3 separate regions of the Homo sapiens genome follow, and all the other regions are linked to region 2. Evidence: promoter capture Hi-C in human tissues and cell types (Jung and others, 2019). All regions are on one chromosome and are shown on one strand. Each heading gives the region's core, a stretch centred on a gene start or on the middle of the fragment in contact. The rest is flanking DNA. Distances are from core to core; before and after follow the strand shown.

Region 1 (2,700 bases), core at 201-2,700, 260 kb before region 2:
GGCAGCCCCTGCATCTCAGTCCTGACATCGCTGTCCCTGGAGCATCCTCCGCTGGAGCTGGAGCTTGACAGGTAGGGTGGAGAGGGCGGTGGGGGGCGGGGGGCCGAAACTGCATCAGTTAACGGGGCCGTGGGGGAGGGAAGTCCTCCATTGCTAAGGCTTCAGTAGGCGTTCTATGATCACAGTGTAAACAAAGCTGCAGGGAAGCTCTAACTGGGCGGAACCCACCGCAGCTCAGCAAGGCCTACTGCCTCTCCAGATTCCACCTCAGGGGCCAGGGCATATCTGAACAAAAGGCAGCGGACAGCTTCTGCAGACTTCAGTGTCCTTGCCTGACATCTCTAAAGACAGCAGTGGTTCTCCCAGCACGGAGTTCGTGCTCCGATAACGGACAGACTGCCTCCCCGAGTGGGTCCCTGACCCCCATGTAGCTTGACTGAAAAACACCGACCAGTAGGGGCGGAGAGACACCTCATACAGGTGGGTGCCCCTGTGGAACAAAGCTTCCAGAAGAAGGATCAGGCAGCAATATTTGCTGTTCTGCAGCCTCCTCTACTGATACCCAAGAAAATAAGGTCTGGAATGGACTTCCAGCAAACCCCCAAAGACCTGCAGCTGAGGGGCCTGTTAGAAGGAAAACTAACAAACAGAAAGGAATAGCATCAACATCAGCAAAGGACAGCATCAACATCAGAATAGCAAAGGACATCCACACTAAAACCCCATCCATAGGTCACCAACATCAAAGACCAAAGGTAGATAAAACCACAAAGATGGAGAGAAACCAGAGCAGAAATGCTGAAACTTCCAGAAACCAGAACGTCTCTTCTCTTCCAAAGGAATACAAGTCCTCACCAGCAAGGGAACAAAACTGGATGGAGAATAAGTTTGATAACTTGACAGAAGTTAAGCTTCAGAAGGTCAGTAATAACAAACTACTCCCAGCTAAAGGAACATGTTCTAACCCATTACAAGGAAGCTAAAAACCTTCAAAAAAAGGTTAAACGAATGGCTAACTAGAATGAAGAATGTAGAGAAGAGCTTAAATGACCTGATGGAGCTGATAACCACAGTACAAGAACTTCATGAAGGATACACAAGCTTCAATAGCTGATTCAATCAAGTGGAAGAAAGGATATCAGTGATTGAAGATAAAATTAATGAAATAAAGTGAGAAGACAAGATTAGAGACAAAAAAATAAAAAAGAAACATTCAAATTCAGGAAATACAGAGAACATCACAAAGATACTCCTTGAGAAGAGCAACCCCAAGACACATAATTGTCAGACTCAGCAAGGTTAAGGGCAGCCAGAGAGAAAGGTTGGGTGACCAACAAAGGGAAGCCCATCAGACTAACAGCAGATCTCTCAGCAGAAACCATACAAACCAGAAAAGAGTTGGGACCAATATTCAACATTCTGAAAGAAAAGATTTTTGAAACTAGAATTTCATATCCAGCCAAACTAAGCTTCGTATGTGAATGAGAAATAAAATCCTTTGCAGACAAGGAGATGCTGAGAGATTTTGTCACCACCAGGCCTGCCTTACAATAAGAGCTCCTGAAGGAAGCACTAAACATGGAAAGGAACAACGGGTACCAGCCACTGCAAAAACATACGAAATTGTAAAGACCATTGATGCTATGAAGAAACTGCATCAATTAATGGGCAAAATAACCAGCTAACGTCATGACAGGATCAAATTCACATATAACAATACTAACCTTCAATGTAAATGGGATAAATGCCCCAATTAAAAGACACAGACTGGCAAATTGGATAAAGAATCAAGACCCATATGGTGTGCTGTATTCAGGAGACCCATCTCACATGCAAAGACACACATAGGCCCAAAATGAAGGTATGTCTGGAATTGGTGGGTTCTTGGTCTCACTGACTTCAAGAATGAAGCTGCGGACCCTCGCGGTGAGTGTTACAGTTCTTAAAGGCAGCGTGTCTGGAGTTTGTTCCTTCTGATGTTCAGACATGTTCAGAGTTTCTTCCTTCTGGTGGGTTCGTGGTCTTGCTGGCTTCAGGAGTGAAGCTGCGGACCTTCGCAGTGAGTGTTACAGCTCTTAAGGCAGCATGTCTGGAGTTGTTCGTTCCTCCTGTCTGGAGTTGTTCATTCCTCCTGGTGGGTTCGTGGCCTCACTGGCCTCAGGAGTGAAGCTGCAGACCTTCACGGTGAGTGTTACAGCTCATAAAGGCAGTGTGGACCCAAAGAGTGAGCAGCAGCAAGATTTATTGCAAAGAGTGAAAGAACAAAGCTTCCACAGTGTGGAAGGGGACCCAAGCGGGTTGCTACTGCTTGAAGGGGTGGCTTGCCCCTCCACACCTGTGGGTATTTCTAGTCAGGTGGGACAAGAGACTGAGAAAGAGAAATAAGACACAGAGACAAAGTATAGAGAAACAACAGTGAGTCCAGGGGACCGGCGCTCAGCATACCAAGGACCTGCACCGGCACCGGTCTCTGAATTCCCTCAGTTTTTATTGATTATTATCGTCATTATTTCAGTAAAAAGGAATGTAGTAGGAGGGCAGGGTGATAATAAGGAGAAGGTCAGCAACAAACGTGAGCAATAGAATCTACATCATAATTCAGTTCAAGGGAAGGTACTATGACTGGACGTGCACGTAAGCCAGATTTATGTTTCTCTCCACCCAAACATGTCGGTGGAGTAAAGAATAACAAGGCAGCAT
Region 2 (2,700 bases), core at 201-2,700:
CTTTTTTTTCAGGCAGGGTCTGGAGTGCAGTGGTGCCATCACTGCTCACCGCGGCTTCGACATCCCAGGATCAATCAATCCTCCCATCTCGGCCTCCCGAATAGCTGGGCCTACAGGCATGCGCCCAGACCCTTGGCTAATTTTTTGAATTTATTGTACAGGCAGGGTTTCGCCATGTTGCCCAGGATGGTCTCCAACTCCTGGGCTCAAGCGATCGGCCTGCCTCGGCCTTCCAAAGTGCTGGGATTACAGGCGTGAGCCACCGCGCCCAGCCTATTTTCTCTTTTTAATGGCGCCAGTGACCCATTCACCTATTAAATTGATGTTACGACTCTTATATAGGCCGCTACTCAACGTTAAAAAAAATCATCTTTAACATACTATTTTAATACTAGACCTCAAATCTTAGCTAAGAAGTAGTTTGGAAGGACTGGGGAAGAGAAGGTTAAGAATGACTATTATGTACGGTAAATATGCTAAGAAGCTGATGAAATAACGATAGATTTACTTAGCTACAAAAAGGCCAAACTAGCATTAGACTTCACTTGTCAGCAGTTTTGTTTTTTTGAGGGGGGCGTGGGGGGGGGGGTCTCTGTCTGTCTGAAGGCACAAAAGAGGAAACAGCAGATAGGACTAACGAGGGCTGGAAATTGGTGAAGAACCACCACGGGAGTTGAGAGATGCAGATGAAGGAAACCATGGCTAGTAGCAAGAACTAGGGCAGCGGTAACTAACCTGCCTCAGCCAAGGAAGTGAGGCTGGTCCAGGATGCCAGGCTCAGAAAGGCAGGTACTGACTGAACACACTCCCCGCTTTGGTTCCTGTAGGACGGGTGAGATACCACACCTTGGCAACCACCAGTAAAGGCTCATAGTCTAGCCCTTGGGAGGCCCCGATTTTAGGGCTGTGCTCGGAGGCGACCTACGTTAGGGACTGGGAGAAGCAGGTACCCTGGGAATGAAGAATGGAGAGCAGCGCTTACTCCAAGAATCTGAGAGACGGGGGAGTCAAGCCGCTGCTAGGCCTTCTCTATGACTGCGGGGGTTCGAATACAGTGAGACCCGACAAAAGCGACCCCATTCTGGGTGATAGCACAGTCCTGGCAAAAAAGCAGGCATGGCAAAATACCCCAGGGTCGTCAGGTGGGACCTGGGCCCCGCTCTCAAAGCCCTTCTGGGTCCCCCTATTTCCCACCACCCCTCGCGCGGAGCCCTGAGGCAGTCAGCGTCCTCCAGGCTAGGGAAAGGCGTGGTTTTCCTTCCCCACGTCTCCCGTAAGGCACTGCTGCCAGCCCAGTACTACTGCGTCTTGGCAAGGCTGGAGGTGCTCCCACCTTCACTTTAATTAGCATCTTCTTTCCAGTTTGGGGCTGCACACGGATAAATTGCTGCTCCTACCGCTCCGGTCGCCGCTGCCGCCCTCCAGCACTCTTGCCTGCAAGGGCCACTTCTACTTCCGGGTCACTGTCTGGCTCCACCCCCCCCCCCCCCCCCACTGGGTTCCGGAAAGGCTCAGGGTTGCTCCCGCGTTTCGGTTCAGTGACGTCGTAAATTGGAATGAGGCATCCAGTTTAGCAACAGCAGAGATGACGACTCTGCGATTCTGAGAGTCCCTGGCGAGCCCGGGCTAGCGAAAAGTGGGGGCAGAACGAACTACATCTCCCATCGTGCCAGGAGGCGGTCCCGCCCGTTTCCCCCTGGGAGTTGTAGTCTAACCCCCTCGGATCCAACAGCAACCTCAGTGCGTGAACTCTGTTATCCAGAAGGCCTCGCCCTGCCGCCGCCGAAGCTGGAATTCGTCGGCTAGTAGTTCTCGCCGGCAACTAGAGGAACCTGTTGGCGTGGCCCAGAAGGCTTAGCGGGATTGCACGAGGTTAGTTGCTAAGCAAGGTGGTCTTTGGTCAACTGCCGCCTGGACCAAGGCAACAGGAAGTGAGTACCTCTATTCCGGAAACTAGTTATGAACCCTCCCCGCCCCCCGTCGCCAACATTCCTTCGTTCCCCTAAATCAGCCTCTTGCCCCATTGCTCTTTGCAGGGGTAGAAGAAGGAAGTGTAGCGGGGTAAGGAATGCACCGTCAGGGTCTCTCACAACCCTTTCCCAGCTCTCCTCCCCAACAAACAGTACCTGGGATGGAGCCCTAGGGTAATCGCAGCCACGGGATGGGTCGAGGTGACAGGCTTCAGGGACCACACTTCGGCCTTTGCCCGACCTTCCACAACTTAAGCGAAGAGAGGCCACCAGCCGTAACAGGGCGTTAAAGCCCAGGGGAAGATTGGTCCTTATGACTTCCTGCCTTCCAGCCCTCAGATTCATCGCTACCCCGAGGCTAAGCGCCATGCCTCATATTGACAACGATGTGAAACTGGACTTCAAGGATGTCCTTTTGAGGCCCAAACGCAGTACCCTTAAGTCTCGAAGTGAGGTGAGCAAGCTTCTCTACTTGCTGTTTCTTGACCCCACGCTCCCGGTGGGCCACAACCAAGAAAGATGCCTGTCCTTGTCCTAATATGGTACGTTTTTTGGATTAATGAAATGGTCAATTTCCTGTTCATATCTGCAGGTGGATCTCACAAGATCCTTTTCATTTCGGAACTCAAAGCAGACATACTCTGGGGTTCCCATCATTGCTGCCAATATGGATACTGTGGGCACCTTTGAGATGGCCAAGGTTCTCTGTAAGGTAGGGCTTTCCTCATGC
Region 3 (2,700 bases), core at 100-2,599, 450 kb after region 2:
TGGCGGAATGGGCAGGGCTACGTGTGAACCCAGAGCAGCCACCACCTCTCTGCAGAAGGGCCAGTGTCAGGGCAGTGTGGACTGATCCCCACTGCTTCTGTGACCTCTGGCACTCAGGGCTCCTGCCTGGTGGGCCTCGACCCTATTCCTTCTGTCTCAGAGGAAATGTAGAAAAATGTAGAACTGCTTCTGCATAGTGCCACTCCTCTGTCTATCCCCAATCTCCTCTTCAACATTGTGAAGCTGGAAATGACGCACATAGGGCACCCTCTTGACTGCTACTCCCCATGCATTTCTGACCCTCATAAGAGAGGCTGGATGGGAAACCACACTGATCCTCCAATACTTCTATGCTCAATAAGCCATCTGTGAGTTGGAAAGGAATTCAGAAATGGGGAAGGGGGCAGGTCGACCTATTTTGCTTTCACAGCAAAGGGTGTGTAGCATCAGGGTGACATTCAGGGCTGATTATTAGGTTGGTGCAAAAGTTATTGTGGTTTTTGCCATTACTTTTGCACCAACCTAAAAAATGTGTCAAATTTTTCTTCCCCAGACAGCTGGCCCTCTGAGTCACAGTGGGAGCAGTATGTAACAGGAGGGGAGAAGAAAATGAAAAAGCCACACAACTGTCTCTTTCTTTGAGCCCTTTTCCAAGCTCTCCTTAAATTTTCAGTTTCTCCTCTTGGTCATTCTCCCCAACAAGTGCTTTGTTTCAGAATTATTAATAACTGGAAAAGTTCTGTTTTTTTTCTCTTTAACTGGCATTTTGCTTATCCTGTGGCTTATTGAGCCCTAGGGAATTTATGCCCTATAAATAAATGACTATTATTATTATGTAGCTGTATTCAGAGCATTAGTTGAAAGGGAGAAGTGACATTTTTCTTTATTTGCTTTAGAAATGTGTTGTAGTCACAATAGCTCTCCTCCTGCCTGGGATTAATGGCATAATTATTCACACCGGGCAACAGAGATGGAATGAGTTTGAACTTGGCATGAATTAATACACCAAAATATGCCTCTTGTTCTTGCTCACTGCCTAATTAATTCTGAATTATGAAATTCTCTGTGAGCTACCCAAAAAGCATGGTCACCGGATTCTGGTGCAATTGTTCTTTCTTTGCACTAAAAATCAAGTGATTTGATAGTTATGGGCTGTTTGGAAAGAGAATGTCCATTTGAATATCCTAGGAAGGAAGGAACAGACCTCATAAGGGATTTTTCTAGAGGTTTTATAGTAAATAACCTGTGTATGATGGACATGCAAGGGCCCCCAGGGGAGACTGAGCTTTGCATGAACCAGCTTTACTGCTAGAGAAATAGAGGACTTAGGAGTACTGTGCCTTGATGTCTAGAATTTACACTATAGAAGGCCATGCCTTTGGATTAGGATATTTTGTTCAGAGGTTCCCAGTTAAATATGAATGAGTTGTCCATGGAGAATAGCACAATCACCTACCAACTCCCAACATAGGGTAAGGAGAACTTGCCACTGCATGACCAACTTTACTCACACTTTGCTAGCTTTTGCCAACACCTCTGCCGGGGATGAAGAATCATGTGAATTATTGGAGCTCAAGACATTGAGTATATGAGCAGTTTCTTATTGTGGCATAAGAAACACAAACACAGCCCCTGCTCCCTTGCTCTCTCTTTCATCCCATGGGGGTATGAAAGTGAATTCAGGACTGATCACTCTCTTCAGTTGCCCTTTCTGCAGTTACCTAGAGAGGATAAAATCCCATTAATTGGATTCAGGACTTGGACAAGAAGGTTGAGCTGTAGGGTCTTAGTCAACCATTATTAGGACTTTGACCTGGAGTTTTGGGGCACTTGTACACCATCAGTACAGGATATTTTAATTCTTATTTGTTTTATTCTTTGTGGGTGCCCCTCCCACAGTCCTCGGAGAACTGAAGGGGAGAGAATAACTGGCATGACAGTATTTTAATATCTTTCTTTGTGTTTTTGGCAATGATATGATCTAACACTATCAATATAAAAATTCTAATGTTAAATATGGTATATTCATTGCTCATCTGAGCATCAATTAGTGCATCCTCTTACCTTGAAATGATGGCTTTCTACTGGATTTCCCCATCCACATGTACACATCCTGTGCTATCTCTCATTTGGAAAACAAAATGAGACAGGAGTCTGTAAACTTCTTCATTCCCTTCAGGTAATTCTTCATGTCTCTGCTTCCCTTTAATGAAAATTTATAAAAAAAAATGTGTATTTTTGTCTTCATTTTTTCAACTTATATTCTATCCAATTCTTGCCAATCTATGTTTCCCACCAATTAATGGAAATCATCTTTGTTAAAGTCATCAATATCCTCCTCCTTGCTAAATTTAGTATCATTTCTGTATCTTTTTCTTTTCCTCAGCAGTGTCTGACACTATGGACTATGCTGTCTTTCATAAAGCACGTTTGTTTGTTTGTTTGTTTTTTTACTGGCCTCTCATCTGGTTCTTTCCTGCTTCCTTCTAACATCTTTGTCCATGGTTTCTCAGTCTGTTTTCCTGGAGTCTCCTCTTCCCAGGCTCAGTCTGTCTCTTTATCTGTGCTTATTCCCTATGTAATCTCATTGAGTTCTATGGCCTTAAATACATTACCCATACACAGATGACTCCTGTGTTAACTAACTACTGTCACAGTAGCAGGTAGCCCCAATATCTCACTGCCTTACAAAAACGATTT

Evidence for each region. Contacts are between HindIII fragments. The study calls those that stand out against the background at their distance.
Region 1: a contact is called between a fragment that was not itself captured here and the fragment with the promoter of NEDD8 in region 2, in 1 of the 25 tissues and cell types used here (spleen).
Region 3: a fragment that was not itself captured here is called in contact with the fragment with the promoter of NEDD8 in region 2 in 1 of the 25 tissues and cell types used here (spleen).

Annotation. Positions count from the first base shown.
Region 1 is chr14:23,970,262-23,972,961 of GRCh38, forward strand. It overlaps a transcript of DHRS4L2 not described here. Among named protein-coding and RNA genes, the nearest start is that of DHRS4-AS1, 16 kb to the left of the region's middle. The HindIII fragment of the contact is 4,031 bases long and covers 1-2,700 here.
Region 2 is chr14:24,230,917-24,233,616 of GRCh38, forward strand. It overlaps NEDD8 (NEDD8 ubiquitin like modifier), which reads right to left and starts at 1,451. Exons shown (of 4, transcript NM_006156.3): 1 at 1,334-1,451. The coding sequence starts at 1,351. It overlaps NEDD8-MDP1 (NEDD8-MDP1 readthrough), which reads right to left and starts at 1,451. Exons shown (of 7, transcript NM_001199823.3): 1 at 1,334-1,451. The coding sequence starts at 1,351. It overlaps GMPR2 (guanosine monophosphate reductase 2), which reads left to right and starts at 2,013. Exons shown (of 10, transcript NM_001002002.3): 1 at 2,013-2,061; 2 at 2,303-2,424; 3 at 2,563-2,682. The coding sequence starts at 2,338. RefSeq lists enhancers at 1,315-2,180, 1,347-1,641. The HindIII fragment of the contact is 8,372 bases long and covers 994-2,700 here.
Region 3 is chr14:24,680,721-24,683,420 of GRCh38, forward strand. No RefSeq gene overlaps it. Among named protein-coding and RNA genes, the nearest start is that of GZMB, 48 kb to the left of the region's middle. The HindIII fragment of the contact is 5,312 bases long and covers 1-2,700 here.